6 separate regions of the Homo sapiens genome follow, and all the other regions are linked to region 1. The links are contacts of gene promoters, found by promoter capture Hi-C in blood cells and fetal thymus (Javierre and others, 2016). All regions are on one chromosome and are shown on one strand. The core of a region is centred on a gene start or on the middle of the fragment in contact, and the rest is flanking DNA. Distances in the headings are between cores, read along the strand shown. Region 1 holds the start of TPMT (thiopurine S-methyltransferase). Region 2 holds the start of C6orf52 (chromosome 6 open reading frame 52). Region 3 overlaps TMEM14B-DT (TMEM14B divergent transcript). Region 4 holds the start of SMIM13 (small integral membrane protein 13). Region 5 holds the start of NEDD9 (neural precursor cell expressed, developmentally down-regulated 9). Region 6 has its middle 2.3 kb from the start of TMEM170B.

Region 1 (2,608 bases), core at 40-2,539:
TCATAAAGCAGTTCTCTACTTAAAAGAGAAGCATAATCTTTATCAGAGTTCCACAGCAGCCTGGAGTAGCACAACTCTATTCCTTTCACACAAACTTGAACTGTCTAACAAAATCATGCACATAACTTAATCATGTCTTAGTTGTTTGTTTTTGAGACAGGGTCTCTCTCTATCCCCCAGGCTGGAGTGCAGTGGTGTAATGACACTTCCGTCTCCAACACTGGGGCTCAAGCGATCCTCTCACTTCAACCTCCTGAGTACCTGGGACTATAAGGGTGCACCACCATGCCTGGCTAATTTTTAAATATTTTGTAGAGACAGGGTCTTGCTATGTTACCCAGGCTGGTCTCAAACTCCTGGGCTCAACGTCTTAGCTGTTCTAACAGTTTCTCAGCATGGACTCCACTTGTATACATCATTTCTAGAGAAATAAAGTTTATTTCTATAATACAAAAAAAGTGCACATTACAAGAATTAAGGAAGGGAAATTTCACAAAAATTTCTGCCCACAAACAAAGTCCTCAAGTTGTTCTAGTCTCCATTCTCACCTTTTCAAAAGCTTCTGCTATAGTTTTGTTTTTAAATTTCATAAAATTGAGAAGAAACTTTCCTAAGGTGCACACATCTTAAAAGAGTATGACTCGGTGAATTTTTTACATATACATACACCTGTGTAACCACCGCAGAGCAAGACAGAATATTTACAGCACCCCAGTTTCCCACATCACCAGGGATCACTCACTATTTGGCAGTACTTATTTTTTCCCAAAAATCACTAATACACCAGGCTGGGGAAAAAACCGAGAGTCCGTTTCTATAAAAAAAAATTTGAAAAATTAGCCAAGCGTGGTGCAGCGAGCCTGTAGTCCCAGTTACCGAGGAGGCTGGGGCGGGAAGATCACTTGAGCCCAGGAGTTCCAGGTTACAGTGAGCTATGATTGTGCCACTGCACGCTAGCATGGGCGACAGAGGGAGACCCTGTCTCTAAAAGAAAAAAGAAAAAAAAATAATTAAAACACACCAGTGCTTTGGAAGCACTTTAAATCCTGGACATTGGATTCAGGTCATTTACTGTCCGACCTCGTTATTCCCAGTTTCCGCTTCTGCCCTGAACCCCACTTCACAGGGCTGATTGCTAGGCTGTCTACGCTTGTAAGAATTCCTGGGAGCCCTAGCACGGGCGCATACACTCCTAGCAAATCGTTCCCTTTCTCACCCGCACCCTCCGCGCCCGAGTGAGCCTACCTCGCTTACAGCTGGTTGCCGGCCATTGCCTCCGCCACCAATGACGTCCCCAGGGGCGGGTACGCCTCCGCTTCCACCTCCGCCACTTCTCCGCGCCCCGCCTCCGCCCGCGCCCCGCCTCCGCCCGCGCCCCGCCTCCGCCCGCGCCCCGCCTCTTTCCCGCGCCCCGCCTCTTTCCCGCGCCCCGCCTCAGTTCCCGCCCCCTCTCCCGGCGCCCCGTCTCCACTCCCGCCCCGTACCTCGTTGCACAGACTCCACCCACTTCCCCAAGCGCCGGGGTTTGCGCAGCGGCGGAAATGGGCAGGGCGGAGCGAGCGCTGCGGCTAAAGCGAAGGCGGGGACCCTACCCATCCCTAGTCCTGTCGGCTCCTCCCACCCCGGGTCACGCCGTGACAGGGGCGGAAGCGGCGGCGGCGGCGGCGGCCGAGAAGAGGCTGGGGCTCGCGGCGCGGCTGCAGCCGTCCTGTGCGCGCGGCGCGCGGCTCCGGAGAGGCGCCCGCAGTCCAGGGCGGCGCGCACCGCCTCGCTGGCGCTCAGAGGTGGGAGGCTCCCCACTCCGGGGGCGTGCGTGGGGGCCGTGGCGGATTTCGGGTGACAGCGTTGCACAAAGCAGCTTGGTTGGGGTGCAAGCCCTCCCTTTCCCCCTGTGCAGCGCCCCTCGCCGTGGTGGGAGGTGGGCGGGTGCCCCAGGGACGGATACCTCCTGCCCCGGATTAAAAGAGGGTGCGGGGTGGGTATCTGTCTGAAGAAGGGGGAATTCCCGGGCTAGGGTGTTGGGGCGTGGGGTCGCCGGGTTCGTCGCGATGTTGCCGGTCGGCTAACCCCCCTACAATGTTTCCTTTCTGTACAGCGGTGCCTTTTCCCCGAGACTCCCGGCACCTCTTCAGCGCAAAGGTGAGCCCCGGGGCAGTTGCTTCTCCGACTTCGAAAAGCTTCCGAAAGCTTCTCGGAAAGCGAGGCGGCTGCAGCTGGCACCGGGAGTTTGGGGCTCCCTCCTGGGGACTGTCAGAGCCGCGGGAGAACCCCACGGTCCTGGAGTAGGAACTCCCTCGCTTGTTCTTCCCGGCCGATAGGGTGCGGCCAGGAGCCCGCACAGCCTTGCAGGTGTTGTAGTAATTCTCTGGCACAGCCACCACGCGTTGAGACTTGATGAGCATTGCCAGGTTGCTGGGGTAACTCCTCTGGGATTGGAGACCTGGAGGAGGGGTGGCCCGATTAGGGTAGCTGTTAGTCAACGGCCGGGCAGCTGACAGGTGAAAGAGGAAGGAAGAGGCCGACCCAGCTGTAGAAAGTTGGGGTTCAGTGATGTGGAAACCAGCCACATAGAAGTCCAGTCTTCCCTTGGGTAAGCCTGCAGGACTCC
Region 2 (2,608 bases), core at 48-2,547, 7.5 Mb before region 1:
GTAAAAATTGCCTTGCTGAGAGATCTTTTGTCTCCATGCTGACTTTTCTTCGTGTCACCAATTATCTATTTCTAACAATAACAAGGTCTTTTCTGCACTGCAGTGACAACCAAAGCATCCCAAATGAAATCATTTCTGCAAGACCCAAACTAGCCTCTATTAACACGTACTAACAATTCAGAACACCAGAGAAGAAAAGTTATTGGAAACAAAAGGGTCTAAGCGCTGAAGCACTGTATCGCACTTGAAATGGAGGCTGAAGATTTGAGAAGGATGGACTATGCATCTTGTTTACCAAATGACCTACTACGGTGTTTATGAGAACTATACGAACCAAGATTTACTCTGTTGGGAGCTTGTAGGAAAGCTGTAATGTCTAAGACATACCTGAATCTCTAAACCTTATTAAATAAAACTTTTTTTTTCTTTGAAAGGGGGCCTGGCTCGTCCCCCAGACTGGAATGCAGTGGAGCGATCTCGGCTCACTGCAGCCTCGACCTCCTGGGCTCAAGCAATCCTCCCACCTCAGCCTTCCGAGTTGCTGAGGCCACAGGCGGGCGTCGCCATGCTGGGCTAATTTATAACATTTTTGTAGAGACGGCATCAAAATATGTTGCTCAGGCTCACTTTGTTTTCCCAACTCTCAAATGAAGGCTCTGGCCGGGCGCTGTGGCTCACGCCTGCAATCCCAGCAACTTTGGGAGGTCGAGGCAAGCGGATCACCTGCGGTCGGGAGTTCAAAACCAGCCTAGCCAACATGGAGAAACCCTGTCTCTACTAAAAAATACAAAATTAGCCAGGCGTGGTGGCGTATGCCTGTAATCCCAGCTACTCGGGAGGCTGAGGCAGGAGAATTGCTTGAACCCGGGAGGCAGAGGTTGCGGTGAGCCGAAATCGCGCCACCGGACTCCAGCCTGGGCAAAAAGAGCGAAACTCCGTCTCAAAAAAAAAAAAAAAAAAATGAAGGCTCACTGCTCCCTCCCCAGGAGGTGCCGCAACCTTGGCCAATACAGCCCCAGAGTTAGACAAGCAGACAGAGAAAGTGTGCAGGGCTGGGGTTCTGGCCCGGGCAGACGGGAACGCGGACACATCTAGCACTCCGAGTCCGTCAAGGCAGCGCGAGCGCTGCGCCGCTGGAACAAGTCACCGCGAACCCTAATCCCACCCCTCCTTACCCTATTAACGACAGAAAGCCTCGTTCCGCTGGTCCCTGAACAAAAACTCCTACCCTACTAGTACACAGCCCACAACAATGCACGCTGCCGGCGCTACAGCCCCTAAGCAACCGGCCGGAAGTCGGCCCCACCTCCTCCTGATGTCACGGAAATGAAGGGCTTCGCAGAGGATGTCCCGCCCGCTCCCTTCAGACGGGCGTAGCTGGCACCTTCCTGAGATATGCCTGCTTGCCCCCGATTTTTTTCTCCTTGCAGTGAGAACCTCCTCATGTGGCATCTTTACTTATTCTCTTCTTGGAAAATCCATGTGACCTCCCCGCGCTTAAAGTGTTTCCACGTTACAGGCGACTTAAAGGCAGCCCTGGAGCCTGACGTATAATTCGAGCGCCGATGCAGAAAGGAGTCAGGTGTTTTTTTTTTTTTTTTTTTGGTTTCCGGTTCTGTCACCTCCAGGCTGAGCCGGGCTGGCGGAAGAGGCACGTGCGCTGCTGAATGGAGCTGGTCGCTGGTTGCTACGAGCAGGTCCTCTTTGGGTTCGCTGTACACCCGGAGCCCGAGGCTTGCGGCGACCACGAGGTGAGATACCGCGTAGTTAGAGACAGTCGGAGGCGGGGCCGGGAAGGTCGGGTTTGGTTCCTACACAGCAGAGGTGAACATTGGAGCGCCTGCTGTTCACTGGATGATTTGATGAATCAAACCTAAGAGACTTAAGAGAAAAGCTAACCTTTTAAACCGTAGAATGGACATTTTATCAAAATGAGGCAATATCTGCCTTTTCTAGTAGACAAAAGGTCCACGGGACACAAAGGAAACCGGCATTTCTGCATACGGACAAATGAGTCGTAGATTGTGGATTTAAGGATCGATCCCATAAGTTGACAGTATTCAGAATTTAATGAAAGAAGATCTCGCTCTTTTGCTGAATTTCTGCCCTGGAATTTTACAAATTACTAGAACTAGATTAGGATAAATCCCTTATAGGTAAAGCGATACCAATTCATTATTTGTTGGGAACTTATGGCGAGCTGGGCGGTGGAGATGCAAAGATGCTGGAGGTATGGATCTTGCCTTAGAGACGTTGCCTACATAAGGGGTGGAGGACTGAGGAGACGCATAGATGGAGAGAAATTACAGCAGAATATGATATTACTAGATGTGTGAATAGATAAAAAGGTCAAATAAATTATCAGTAGTCAAATAGGTAGATAGGACTATACTCACGACTAGGAATCCGACCTCCTAACATCTAGCTCACTTTTATTCTTGAAGCAATTCTAAGCATTTTCTAGAAAATTGAGTACAGTACTTCTTTATGAAGTCAAGGCGTCGGTCTTTAATTATCCAGAAAATTTGGAAGTATATCACTTGGCCTATTGCTTTCGTTTATTTTGTTTCCTACTCCAGTTATTTGCTCTTTGTCTTTGGCTGAAAAG
Region 3 (2,608 bases), core at 76-2,575, 7.4 Mb before region 1:
AAGTTTCTGAATATGATTTTTAGATGGAATAAAAATGGATACAAATGTAATTCCTCTTATGCCATTCTCCCTAGAATCAATGTAGGATCACCTTATGATAATGAAGTTACTTGAGGCTGGGTGCGGTGGCTCACACCTATAATCCCAGCACTTTGGGGGGCAGAGGGAGGTGGATCACCTGAGGTCAGGAATTCAAGACCAGCCTGGTCAACACGGTGAAACCCGGTGTCTACTAAAGATAAAAAAATGAGCCGGGTGTGGTTGCTGGCGCCTGTAATCCCAGCTGCTTGGGAGGCTGAGGCAGGAGAATTACTTGAACCCGGGAGGCAGAGGTTGCAGTGGGCCGAGATGATGCCACTGCACTCCAGCCTGGGCAAGAGTGAGACTCTGTCTCAAAAAAAAAAAAAAAAAAAGCGACTTGATGAAGCTTCCATGTTATTTAATTCTACTCAGTTCCTAGGGAATGCATATTACAGCAAAGTTGAGTATAATGCAGATATTCCTGAGAGGTGAAGCCGACTGGGCTTCTGGGTCGGGTGGGGACTTGGAGAACTTTTCTGTCTAGCTAAAGGATTATAAACACACTAATCAGCACTCTGTGTTTAGCTAAAGGTTTGCAAACGCACCAGTCAGCACTCTGTGTCTAGCTAATCAGGTGGGGACTTGGAGAACTTTTGTGTCTACCTAAAGGATTGTAAACGCACCAATCAGCACTCTGTAAAACGGACCAATCAGCACTCTGTAAAATGGACCAATCAGCAGGATGTGGGTGGGGCCAAATAAGGGGCCAAAAGCAGGCCACCCGAGCCAGCAGTGGCAACTCTCCTATCAGTCCTGTTCCATGCTGTTGCAGTTTTCTTCCTTTGCACTTTGCAATAAATCTTACTGCTGTTACTGCTGGTTACTGTTTGGGTCCTCACTGCCTTTATGAGCTGTAACACTCACTGTAAAAGTCTGCAGGTTCACTCCTGACACTAGCGTAAATGACAAGCCCATTGGGAGGAACGAACAACTCTGGAGGTGCCATCTTTAAGAGCTGTAACACTCATTGCAAAGGTCTGCAGCTTCACTCCTGAAGCCAGCAAGACCATGAGCCCACAGGGAGGAATGAACAACTGTGGACGTTCCGCCTTTATGAGCTATATAACACTGACTGCGAAAGTCTGCAGCTTCACTTCTGAAGCCAGCGGGACCATGAACCCACAGGGGAGGAATGAACAGCTCTGGATGCACCACCTTTAAGAGCTGTTAACAGTCAACGGCGAAGGTCTGTGGCTTCACTCCTGAGGCCTGTGCAGGTCACTGAACCCAGCGGAAAGAAGAAATTCCAGACACATCCAAACAGCTGAAGGAACAGACTGTGGACACACTATTTTTAAGAACTGTAAACACCGTGAGGGTCCGTGGCTTCATTCCTGAAGTCAGCGAGACCAAGAACCCACCGGAAGGAACCAATATTTGGACACATTCGTATCAGCTGTTTAAAATTCTTGGTGGGGGCCGGGAGCTGTGGCTTAACGCCTGTAATCCCAGTACTTTGGAAGGCTGAGGTAGGTGGATCACGAAGTCAGGAGTTTGAGAACAGCCTGGGCAATATGCTGAAACACCTGTCTCTAGTAAAAATAAGAAAATTAGTAGGGCATGGTGGCATGTGCCTGTAATCCCAGCTACTTGGGAGGCTGAAGCAGGAGAATCGCTCAACCCGGGAGGCAGAGGTTTCCGTGAGCTAAGATCGCGCCACTGCACTCCAGCGTGGGTGACAGAGCAACACTCAGTCTCAAAACAGAATTCTTCATGGGACATTTAACTGAAAGGCTTAAACTGGCTTAAGTCTATTTTAAGACACGGGGTCTCTGTCACCTTTTGCAGTGGCATGATTATAGCTTCCTGCAGCTTTGAACTCCTGGGCTCAAGCAATCCTCCTGCCTCAGCCTCCTGAGTAGCTGTGACTACAGGCATCCACCATCACACCCAGCTAATCTTATTTTTTTTGTAGAGACTGGGTTTCATCATGTTGGTCAGGCTGGTTTCGAACTCCTGACCTCAAGTGATCTGCTTGCCTTGGCCTCCCAAAATATTGGGATTACAGACATGAGCCACTGCGCCCAGCCAGAGGGTGTTTTTTTAATGTGGCATTTGAAAATAAAAAGTTGGAATATACATTTGTTTTTGGGAGTATTCAATACTTTTAAGGAAGATTAATATGTTTGTGAAATACAGGGGAAAGCTTTTAGTACAAGTTAAGTATAGATAAATCTTAGTTTTTAAAACATAGGCAGATTTTATTAGATGTGTTAAGTAGTAAGTAGAACATGTGTTAGACACAGAAAGGAATAGAAAGTCCAGGATACCTAACATTCCTAGCTACCAAGTATACATGAGACACCTGAGCATGAAATATTTGATACATTAAATGTCCAAGAGGCACTAAATACAGTGCATAAAATATACATAAGCATGAAATAGTCATGCTATTCACTTCTGTCCCCAAGTGTCCTCTGTCCAAGAAACACAGTAAAACCCATGGTTGCTCCACAGGCCAACAGGCAAAGCTCAGCTCTTTGCTAGGCTTGCTTGTACCTGCATCTCGGACAGAGCAAGTTTGTGT
Region 4 (2,608 bases), core at 65-2,564, 7.1 Mb before region 1:
CATGTTGGCCAGGCTGGTCTCGAACTCCTGACTTCAGGTGATCTGCTCGCCTTAGCCTCCCAAAGTGCTGGGATTACAGGCGTGAGCCACCTCGCCTAGCCCTGACGCGTATTTTCAACTGGCTTTTAATAAAATGTGTTTTAATTATGCAACATAATTGAACCACCCATGAAAAAAGCACACACTGATTTTTTGTAAATATATCTTAATTGCACTGGGTTCATTCTCTTCACAGGAATCTATATTAAATCTGTTGCAAAGCAAGTAATTATCCTTTAATGTATTTTTATACATGGTATTTGTTCCTAATGTTGCTTCTTAGGGAATACAGTTCACATAGTAGGGCAGCTGGGTATGGCAGGATACATTTATTAAATCAAGGGATTGCTGCTTAGAACTTTTGTGTTTGTTTTTGGAGACAGAAGACAGGAAACTGTAATTTTTAGAAGAGTAAAAAGGTATCTCAGGGAGCAAAAGAATCACAGGAAAACTCGAAGGCTCTGATTCCTTCTAAAAGAGGGACACATTTACCCTCTATTCTTCTGGGGGCACCTCTTTAACAAATGAATGTAATCTGGCGGAAGTGGGGAGTTTCAATTTTGGGTGGAGATACAGTAGTTGAGATTACTACAGTGTCTTGTTTCGTAGAGGTGTAAGCCAGTGCGGCAAAATCTCCAAGCTTGGTCTCAAGGAGGCAGCTGGGTCTAACTTACAACTCAGGCAGGTGATTTGAGGGCAGTGCAGCTGTCCTTAAGTCACCCGCGGGCCATTTCTGAAATGCTTTACTTACGAAAAGATAGAACATAACATCTGTTGCAGGGGGAAAATGAGATTTCGTGTCCTGACCCGCGTCTGCGGCAGGGACCTGAGTTCTTCCTCCAAGTCCCAAATAGCCAACCTTCGCCCCCGGCAACAGGGCTAGGTGCACGAGCAACCAGTTTTTCAGGCAGCCGCCTCCTCTTTCCTCTCTCGCCGTACTTCATCGATTACGGCTAGAAACAAAACGACTTTGTATACGGAGTAATGGTTGAAATCTCACTGGCGCCTCAGCAGGACGGGCAGCCAGATCCGCGGCTTTGGAGAAGGCCAGCCCACGGTCGTCCGACTGAGGCGACTTGAGCAAGACCAAAGGCAGAGCCGCCCGAGAATGAAAGCAGCGAAGCCCGAGTGGCGGTGCATTCTGGGAGTTGTAGTCCCTGCGAGACAACGCCGTCCCGACTCCACCAGGCTCTGCACTCCATCTCCCAGCCGACCCCGCGCCGCGGAGGAGGCGAGCTTGGTGATGAGCTGCCCCAGCGGTAGGGGGCCTGGGGCGGAGAAGCCGCTACAGCCGCGGCCGGGCGACGCTGACATCTGGCATCCCTGGGGTCTCAGAGACACGGGTGGACAGCGACGAGGGCCTTGTGGCCGCCGTGTGTACCCGTGCTTACCCTCTGTCCTCCCTACAGGCGCGCGGCGTCCGCCATGGAAGCGCATCCGACCGCTGGGGTCTCTGGGTGCCGCGGCCTCGGCTCTCCGGGGCGATGAGGGACTAGAGGCGCCCTGAGGCCCGCCTGCCTCCCGCGCTCTGGCCACCCCGGCGGGAAAAGGATCGGGCGGGCGGGCGGTCCCACAGTGCCCGCCTTTGCGCCGCCCCACCCCCTGGGGGCGCTGCCGAGGGGGCGCCAGCCGCCCATGCCGCCCCGGCGCCCAGCCGCGCCTGGCGCCCGCCGCTGAAGCGCAGGACGCGCCGCCGCCCGCGCTCACCGCCGTCCGCGCCAGCCGCCCCGAGCCGACTGCCCTTCTGCCCCCAAGATGTGGCACAGCGTCGGGCTGACTCTGCTTGTGTTCGTGGCCACGCTGCTGATCGTCCTGCTGCTGATGGTGTGCGGTGAGTGGGGGCGGTAGCCGCGAGGCAGTTCCACACGCCGGGTCGCTGATCTGCTGGGGTTTTTTTTGTTGTTTGTTTTTTTGAAAAAAACAAAAGGGCGTGGACGGACAATTGTCTTAAAATCAACTGTTGTCCCTTAGCCTCTAGGGCTGAGCGCAGAGGTGGGCCCTTTACTCATGGCCGGCCCTCGGGCATCCTGGGGAGGGAAAGGACAGGCTCCAGGGCTTCCTGCCTCTGAGTGAAACTCAGCCTTGCTTCACCGGCAGCGTCTGCTCTTTCATTCTCACCACAGGCTGCCCAGATTGTAACCTTGGCCTGCATTCGAAGGTGAAGTGATTGATTGGTCCTTTTTCATTTGCACAGATTCTGACCTTAATAATGAGAGGTGTCACCTTCGTTTCATCAGCGAGTGGGGTAGAGTTGGGTTTTCAGCACGCGTGAAATTGTTTACTTAGAGTTCAGCCTTAAACTCAATTCCAAGCAGAGATGTGGAGACCAGGCAGAGCTTAGAAACACCGGCTATATTAAACTTGCAGGGTCGGGTAACCTAACTCTCAGTTCTATAATAATGGTGCTATTTCGAATGCTGTGCGTATTTTCCTTCTTGGAATGAGAGGACGTTCAACTTTTTTCTTCAAATAATGGTAGCCCAATTTTAGATCTTTTTGATTTCTTTGTACATGTATAGTAGCTGATAACCACAGGTCTCTTAGCAAAGTGGCTAAGCAATTGTGAAAA
Region 5 (2,608 bases), core at 51-2,550, 6.9 Mb before region 1:
TGGTTAAAGTCATGAGTTCTGGAGCCAGATCGCCTTAGTTCTAATCCCAGCTCACCACTTTCTAGCTGTGTGGCATTAGATAAATTACTTAGCCTCTCTGTGTCATTTGAAATTGAGTATAAAAATAATACCCACCTTGTAGAGCTATTGGGAGAGTTGAATATGACAATCTTGTGTTGTCACAGTAAGTCTCAATTAATGTTACTTCATTACTTTTGTGTCTCTCCTCTACTTACAATAACAAAATCCTTTCCTGAAGTAAAGTTGTTCATTATTAACTAGAGAGAAAGAAAACTTTATAAAAAAGGAAAGTGGATTTCTTCAGCTATTGGTTGATTTAATAGTCATCATAGGGCATAAGTCATGTGTTCGGTCGGAGAAGTTAGCTTTTTTGCTGGTGAAGGTGCCTACAAGGTAATAAAAATCATGTATTTACATCATTTGGCAAGGTGTTCAACACCAGTAAGGCCCAGTGGAGAAGCAGGTTTCTCCATGAATGCCAATCGCAGTTTACGCTGTCAGTCACTTTATCAGTTGCCTTTAGATTTTCTTTCCATAAAGAGTAAAGCTAACCACGATGAGATCATTGAATAAAAGTGACTTGAGACTTTGTCGCTTTCGTCACTTTCTAGATTATAGCACTCAATGTTAATTTCAGCCATTTATACTTTCCAATAATAGACATATGAACATACTTTCTCTTTTTTCTGCAAGCCAGTTCTTATTCAACAACAGGGAAAGGAGGAGCAAAAAAGTCACTCCAGGCTGAGTAATATCTGGTCCTATCATTGTTCTAAATAAGGAAATATGGGGTGAGCCACTTTAAGGAAGATAACTTTCCTGCCAAGTAGAGGGATTTGTTTCTGGTTGCATCCTAAAGTCAAATATTAATAGTCTTCAGGATGACCCTTTCCTCTGATCTTCCCTACTGATGAAGATAATAGAAAGCTGATGAAACAGAAATAGCTGATACCTGTGTCTTCAGACAGTGGTAACGTAGGCATTACTATAAAGACTTTTGACATTTAGACTTAAAGCTTTTGAATAAGATTCATAGTTTTTGAACAAAAGCTTTATTACTGAGGCTAGTCAGTGGCTATCAGTTAGACCAAGTATTTACAACCTTACATCAAAAAAGGATGGACCAGAAAAATTTAGAAAAAAAGCGAAGTAGCTTCCAGCTAGTGTACAGTTAATATAAATTGTCAATCCACAAGCCTAGCACCCTTGCCCAAATCCATCTTAATAATAACACTTTTGTTTAAAATAGCATAAAATAAAATAGTAGCACTAGCACTCATGTCTATTCATCATTCAAGAAAAATTCATGTCCAATTCATTGCAGTCTGCTTTCTTTGTGTCCCCTGGAAGCTGCTTGCCTCCTTAGATGGGAGTGACTTAAAAGAAAAAGGGGAGGGGGGAATATACGGAGCAAGTCAAAAATCCTTTTGGCAAGAAAAATCCACAAACAATGGTGTAAAATGCATTGGAAAATAATGCTGCTGAAGTACTATGACTATGACACTCTGTAAGCTTTCAGGCACAATGAGCCAGCCTGAGCCTTCGCACTCTCACCCCATTCAAACTCCAATAAAAATGTTTTCAAGAAATGGCTCATACTTATTTATTCCTACATCCAATATAACATAAGGATGTCAAAATTTTCCATCCTCAGCTGTGTAATCTGGGCTTTTAATTTCTCCCACCAAAAGTGCATATGGCATACTCCTTCCGAGACCAAACGATTAAAGCAAAGTCTGGAAAACTTTGCACTAAGAGCCAGTCTGAGACAGACTATGCAGTCCTCATTCCTCTCATTACAGTTCCCCAGGGCAGTGGAAGCCAGGCCTGGGGAAGCCAAGGAGACTTGAGCCAATGCCTGCCGCGATTCAAGTCAGACACCCTCTGATCTCCAGTGGCTGCTGTGAAGCGGCTCCAAGTCTTAACTTCTCACCGAGGTATTTCCCCGGCAACTTTCAGAGCAGATGGACTCGGGTGTACTGTGAACCCCTGGAGTGGGTCTCAAAGACCGGGTCTCTGCTTGCTTGTCTGCTTGCATGTCAACCTCAGTGACCGAGACTCATCTTAGAACTCTCCGGGACACACAAGGGACTGACAGTAAGGAACACGCATACACAAGCACACACCCGCAGGCACAGCTTTCAGCTTGCAAGGTAACCTGTAAAAGGCACTCTCTTACCTTATACTTCATTTCGGCAGCGGTGGGTTGAGCCGTTTTCCTACACTAGTTAAGACAGCATTAAGCACTGCGGTGCCCGCCCCTCCATTGAGTGCAGCGCTAGATGAAAGCGAGAAGGTCCCGGGCAGAGCCGCTTGTCAGTCGCAGCGCCTCCCTCAAGTCTCTGAGCTCACTGTTGTGACTGAGGCAGGCTGATCGCGGACCTCATTTGCATGCCGCCCCGCCATTGGCTAGTGGGACAAGGTAATGCTCAGGCCCTGCCCACCCCTAATTCTGAAAAACTGACAAAGAACTTGTAATGTGATCGCTTCTTTTTGCTTTATCAGACGGTGGAAAATAAAACAGAAAGTGGGGAACCGTCCTGAACCTTACTCTGTCCTCCCGCCCCCGCCAAAAAAGAAGACAGAA
Region 6 (2,608 bases), core at 36-2,535, 6.6 Mb before region 1:
TTAGGGGCTTAACTATGCAATCTGCTTCAAACAAGGGAATGTGGATATGTGACATGCATGTGACATGGACCCCATATCTGAGCATGAACTTTAAATGCACCTGTGTAGTTTAGCCCTGCCTCTCTTGTCCATGCCAGAGCTGGGATAAGGATGAGGTGGGTGAGACAAGGTCTTGCAAGTGCAGGGTGAGATTCTGTGTTTATTTAAAATTTTGGTATTTCATTAATCATGGATTTTTGCATGAATTTTTATTTTTAAAAATATTATATTAGTATATTATTTATCTTGATAACAGAGTGTTTCAGAGTCTGTTGTCAAGACTTGCAGGCAAGGCTTTGCAGGCAAGGCCAGTGTCCCATTGTAGCCCTGGTTCCAGCCCTATACCATGAGAATGGCATGTACTCAGAGCGTGACATCTTCCTCAGCCTCAGGTATGAAATGAGAAGACCTGTGGAGCTGGACTGAGCTGAATCAAGCTGAATCAGTCTAGATTTTGGACTTGCATGGGGCCTGTAGCTCCTTTGTTGTGGCCAATGTCTCCCATTCGGAATGGCTGTATTTATCCAATGCGTGTACCCCCATTGTATCTAGGAAGTAACTAACTTGCTTTTGATTTTACAGGCTTATAGGCGGAAGGGACTAGCCTTGTTTCAGATGAGACTTTGGACTGTGGACTATTGAGTTGATGCTGAAATGAGTTAAGACCTTGGGGAACTGTTGGGAAGGCATGATTGATTTTGAAATGTGAGGACATGAGAGTTGGCAGGGACCAGGGGAGGAATGATATAATTTGGCTCTGTATGGTTTTATCAAGGGTCTCCACTTTTGCGTCTTCCTCATTCTCTCGTTGCCTGCTGCCACCCATGTAAGACGGGACTTGCTCCTCCTTGCCTTCCACCATGATTGTGAGGCTTCCCCAGTCACATGGAACTGTAAGTCCAATTAAACCTCTTCCTTTATAAATTGCCCAGTTTTGGGTATGTCTTTATCTGCAGCGTGAAAATGGACTAATACGTTAAGTTGATACCAGTAGAGTGGGGTGCTTCTGAAAAGATACCTGAAAATGTTTTTCTCAAAAGATCAATATCATTTTATATTTTAATTGATTTTAAAAAGCTTTCCTCTAGGTTGTCTCTGGACAGTTTTAAAAATGACTAAGGCTAATGGGTGTTCCCTCACTTACATGAGAGAAATAAACCAGGAATTTTGGTTTATGAATTACGTTTGTGAATTGTTTCATGCTGAAGGGCACAGAGTTGAAAGGAAATTTTTGGATTCACTTGGGGTGGTCCCTGATTTCTGACAGGAACGTGACTAAACTCTTCCTGAATTGGTGTATTAATTCAAAATAAAAAATCTGTAGGAAAGAAATTCCAAAACTTTCATTTGTATTAACTCAGTTTTGGGTTTCATAACTCTGGCTGTTGGGAAAATGTCTAATTCTCTTAAGGATATAAGCTTCCAACACAGTCAAGATCATTACTTTTATCAAGGAAAACCTAAGTAGCCTAGAGAGTAGAGATCTTATCTTCAAATGTTACAGATAACACCTTGCACAGAACATTACAGATAGTAGATGCCAAATAAATATAGACGCCAATTAAATTGAACTGAACAGCAGGGGTGAAGTTGTTGGGCAGCAAATAACATTACTGACTTGAGACTTCATTGCTGTGTCTTTCTCATTTCCTGACATGAACACTTGGATTCTGTAAAAAATATTTATTCAGAACAAGAACAATGCTGACTTTTCTATGAAGATCATTCAGTGATTCATTCAACAAATATTTGTGGTGCAGGTGCCAGGCACTGTCCCAGGTTCTGAATATTTTCACTGCGTGCTACTGTGTTTTAAATAATAGTGTGCAATCCTAAGAACGTAAACTAACTAAAGGTTTCTGATATGAGAGTTTAATGAGCCCCTGCTCAGGGAGTTTGCTGTGAACCCTTCACTGAATGTGGTCACATTCCCTAACATCACTAATTATGTAATGCCAAGTCCCTTAAGAATATCATTAGGTAACCTGCACTTCCCCATCAAGAATCTTAAAGTGAGGGAGTTAACAGTGGGTTAAGAAAGATAATGTGGTTGCTAGAAAGAATAATAGACCAGGAATTCAGAAACTGAGCTGTGAAGTGCTGTCATCTCTGTCAAGTCACTTAATTCACAGAATCTGTTTCCCTATCTGTAAAATAAAATTAGAAAAATGTTAAAGCGCTCTTTTAGGTTTGATATTCTGTAATCTTGTTAATAGATCTAATTAAGTCTAAATTCTAGGAGGAAGATAAACTCTACATTAAGAGTTTTGGCTCAATTCCTATTAATGGTGCAAAAATTTCTCTTATGTTGTGACATCAAAAAGAAAATACAAATAAACAAAGAAATAAATGTGTATGTAAATATTATTTTAAAGTGGTCACCAAGAGCACCATTTGACAGGTAATTTGACCCTTCAGTGCTTTGTCAAATATACTTCATGATTTAGCTACAGCAGGTATTTCTTCACTTCTCTTTGTAAATTTTTCTTTATCCAGATGGCAGAGGGGTTGAAAAAAGGTGGGGGGAGGGGCTGGCTACTGCATATTTATGTTACTGCTAAAACTTAAA

The links. The method cuts DNA at HindIII sites, captures the fragments that hold promoters and counts their contacts. A CHiCAGO score of 5 or more calls a contact.
Region 2: a contact is called between the fragment with the promoter of C6orf52 here and the fragment with the promoter of TPMT in region 1, in 2 of 17 cell types (activated CD4 T cells and naive CD8 T cells). The highest score is 5.5, in activated CD4 T cells.
Region 3: a contact is called between a fragment that was not itself captured here and the fragment with the promoter of TPMT in region 1, in 1 of 17 cell types (total CD4 T cells). The highest score is 6.3, in total CD4 T cells.
Region 4: the fragment with the promoter of SMIM13 here is called in contact with the fragment with the promoter of TPMT in region 1 in 5 of 17 cell types (naive CD8 T cells, fetal thymus, total CD4 T cells and 2 more); the score reaches 11.0 in naive CD8 T cells.
Region 5: a fragment that was not itself captured here is called in contact with the fragment with the promoter of TPMT in region 1 in 1 of 17 cell types (non-activated CD4 T cells); the score reaches 9.2 in non-activated CD4 T cells.
Region 6: a fragment that was not itself captured here is called in contact with the fragment with the promoter of TPMT in region 1 in 2 of 17 cell types (non-activated CD4 T cells and naive CD4 T cells); the score reaches 8.7 in non-activated CD4 T cells.

What each region holds. Positions count from the first base shown.
Region 1 is chr6:18,153,788-18,156,395 of GRCh38, forward strand. It overlaps TPMT (thiopurine S-methyltransferase), which reads right to left and starts at 1,290. Exons shown (of 9, transcript NM_000367.5): 1 at 1,246-1,290. KDM1B (lysine demethylase 1B) reads left to right here and starts at 1,635. Exons shown (of 22, transcript NM_001364614.2): 1 at 1,635-1,784; 2 at 2,096-2,139. RefSeq lists a silencer at 1,336-1,895 and an enhancer at 2,336-2,575. The HindIII fragment of the contact is 1,618 bases long and covers 558-2,175 here.
Region 2 is chr6:10,693,319-10,695,926 of GRCh38, forward strand. It overlaps C6orf52 (chromosome 6 open reading frame 52), which reads right to left and starts at 1,298. Exons shown (of 5, transcript NM_001145020.3): 1 at 1,176-1,298. It overlaps PAK1IP1 (PAK1 interacting protein 1), which reads left to right and starts at 1,654. Exons shown (of 10, transcript NM_017906.3): 1 at 1,654-1,751. The coding sequence starts at 1,668. RefSeq lists enhancers at 1,212-1,261, 1,270-1,872, 1,302-1,681. The HindIII fragment of the contact is 16,030 bases long and covers 1-2,608 here.
Region 3 is chr6:10,741,067-10,743,674 of GRCh38, forward strand. It overlaps TMEM14B-DT (TMEM14B divergent transcript), which reads right to left. Exons shown (of 2, transcript NR_187231.1): 2 at 2,258-2,608. Among named protein-coding and RNA genes, the nearest start is that of TMEM14B-DT, 5.2 kb to the right of the region's middle. The HindIII fragment of the contact is 1,800 bases long and covers 426-2,225 here.
Region 4 is chr6:11,092,520-11,095,127 of GRCh38, forward strand. SMIM13 (small integral membrane protein 13) reads left to right here and starts at 1,315. Exons shown (of 2, transcript NM_001135575.2): 1 at 1,315-1,870. The coding sequence starts at 1,795. RefSeq lists enhancers at 922-1,462, 1,005-1,214, 1,463-2,004, 1,885-2,004 and a silencer at 1,475-1,784. The HindIII fragment of the contact is 2,504 bases long and covers 678-2,608 here.
Region 5 is chr6:11,230,304-11,232,911 of GRCh38, forward strand. NEDD9 (neural precursor cell expressed, developmentally down-regulated 9) reads right to left here and starts at 2,365. Exons shown (of 7, transcript NM_006403.4): 1 at 2,201-2,365. The coding sequence starts at 2,212. LOC124901256 (a long non-coding RNA gene) reads right to left here and starts at 407. Exons shown (of 2, transcript XR_007059449.1): 1 at 136-407. RefSeq lists silencers at 1,873-1,922, 2,403-2,452. The HindIII fragment of the contact is 462 bases long and covers 1,070-1,531 here.
Region 6 is chr6:11,534,110-11,536,717 of GRCh38, forward strand. No RefSeq gene overlaps it. Among named protein-coding and RNA genes, the nearest start is that of TMEM170B, 2.3 kb to the right of the region's middle. The HindIII fragment of the contact is 342 bases long and covers 1,115-1,456 here.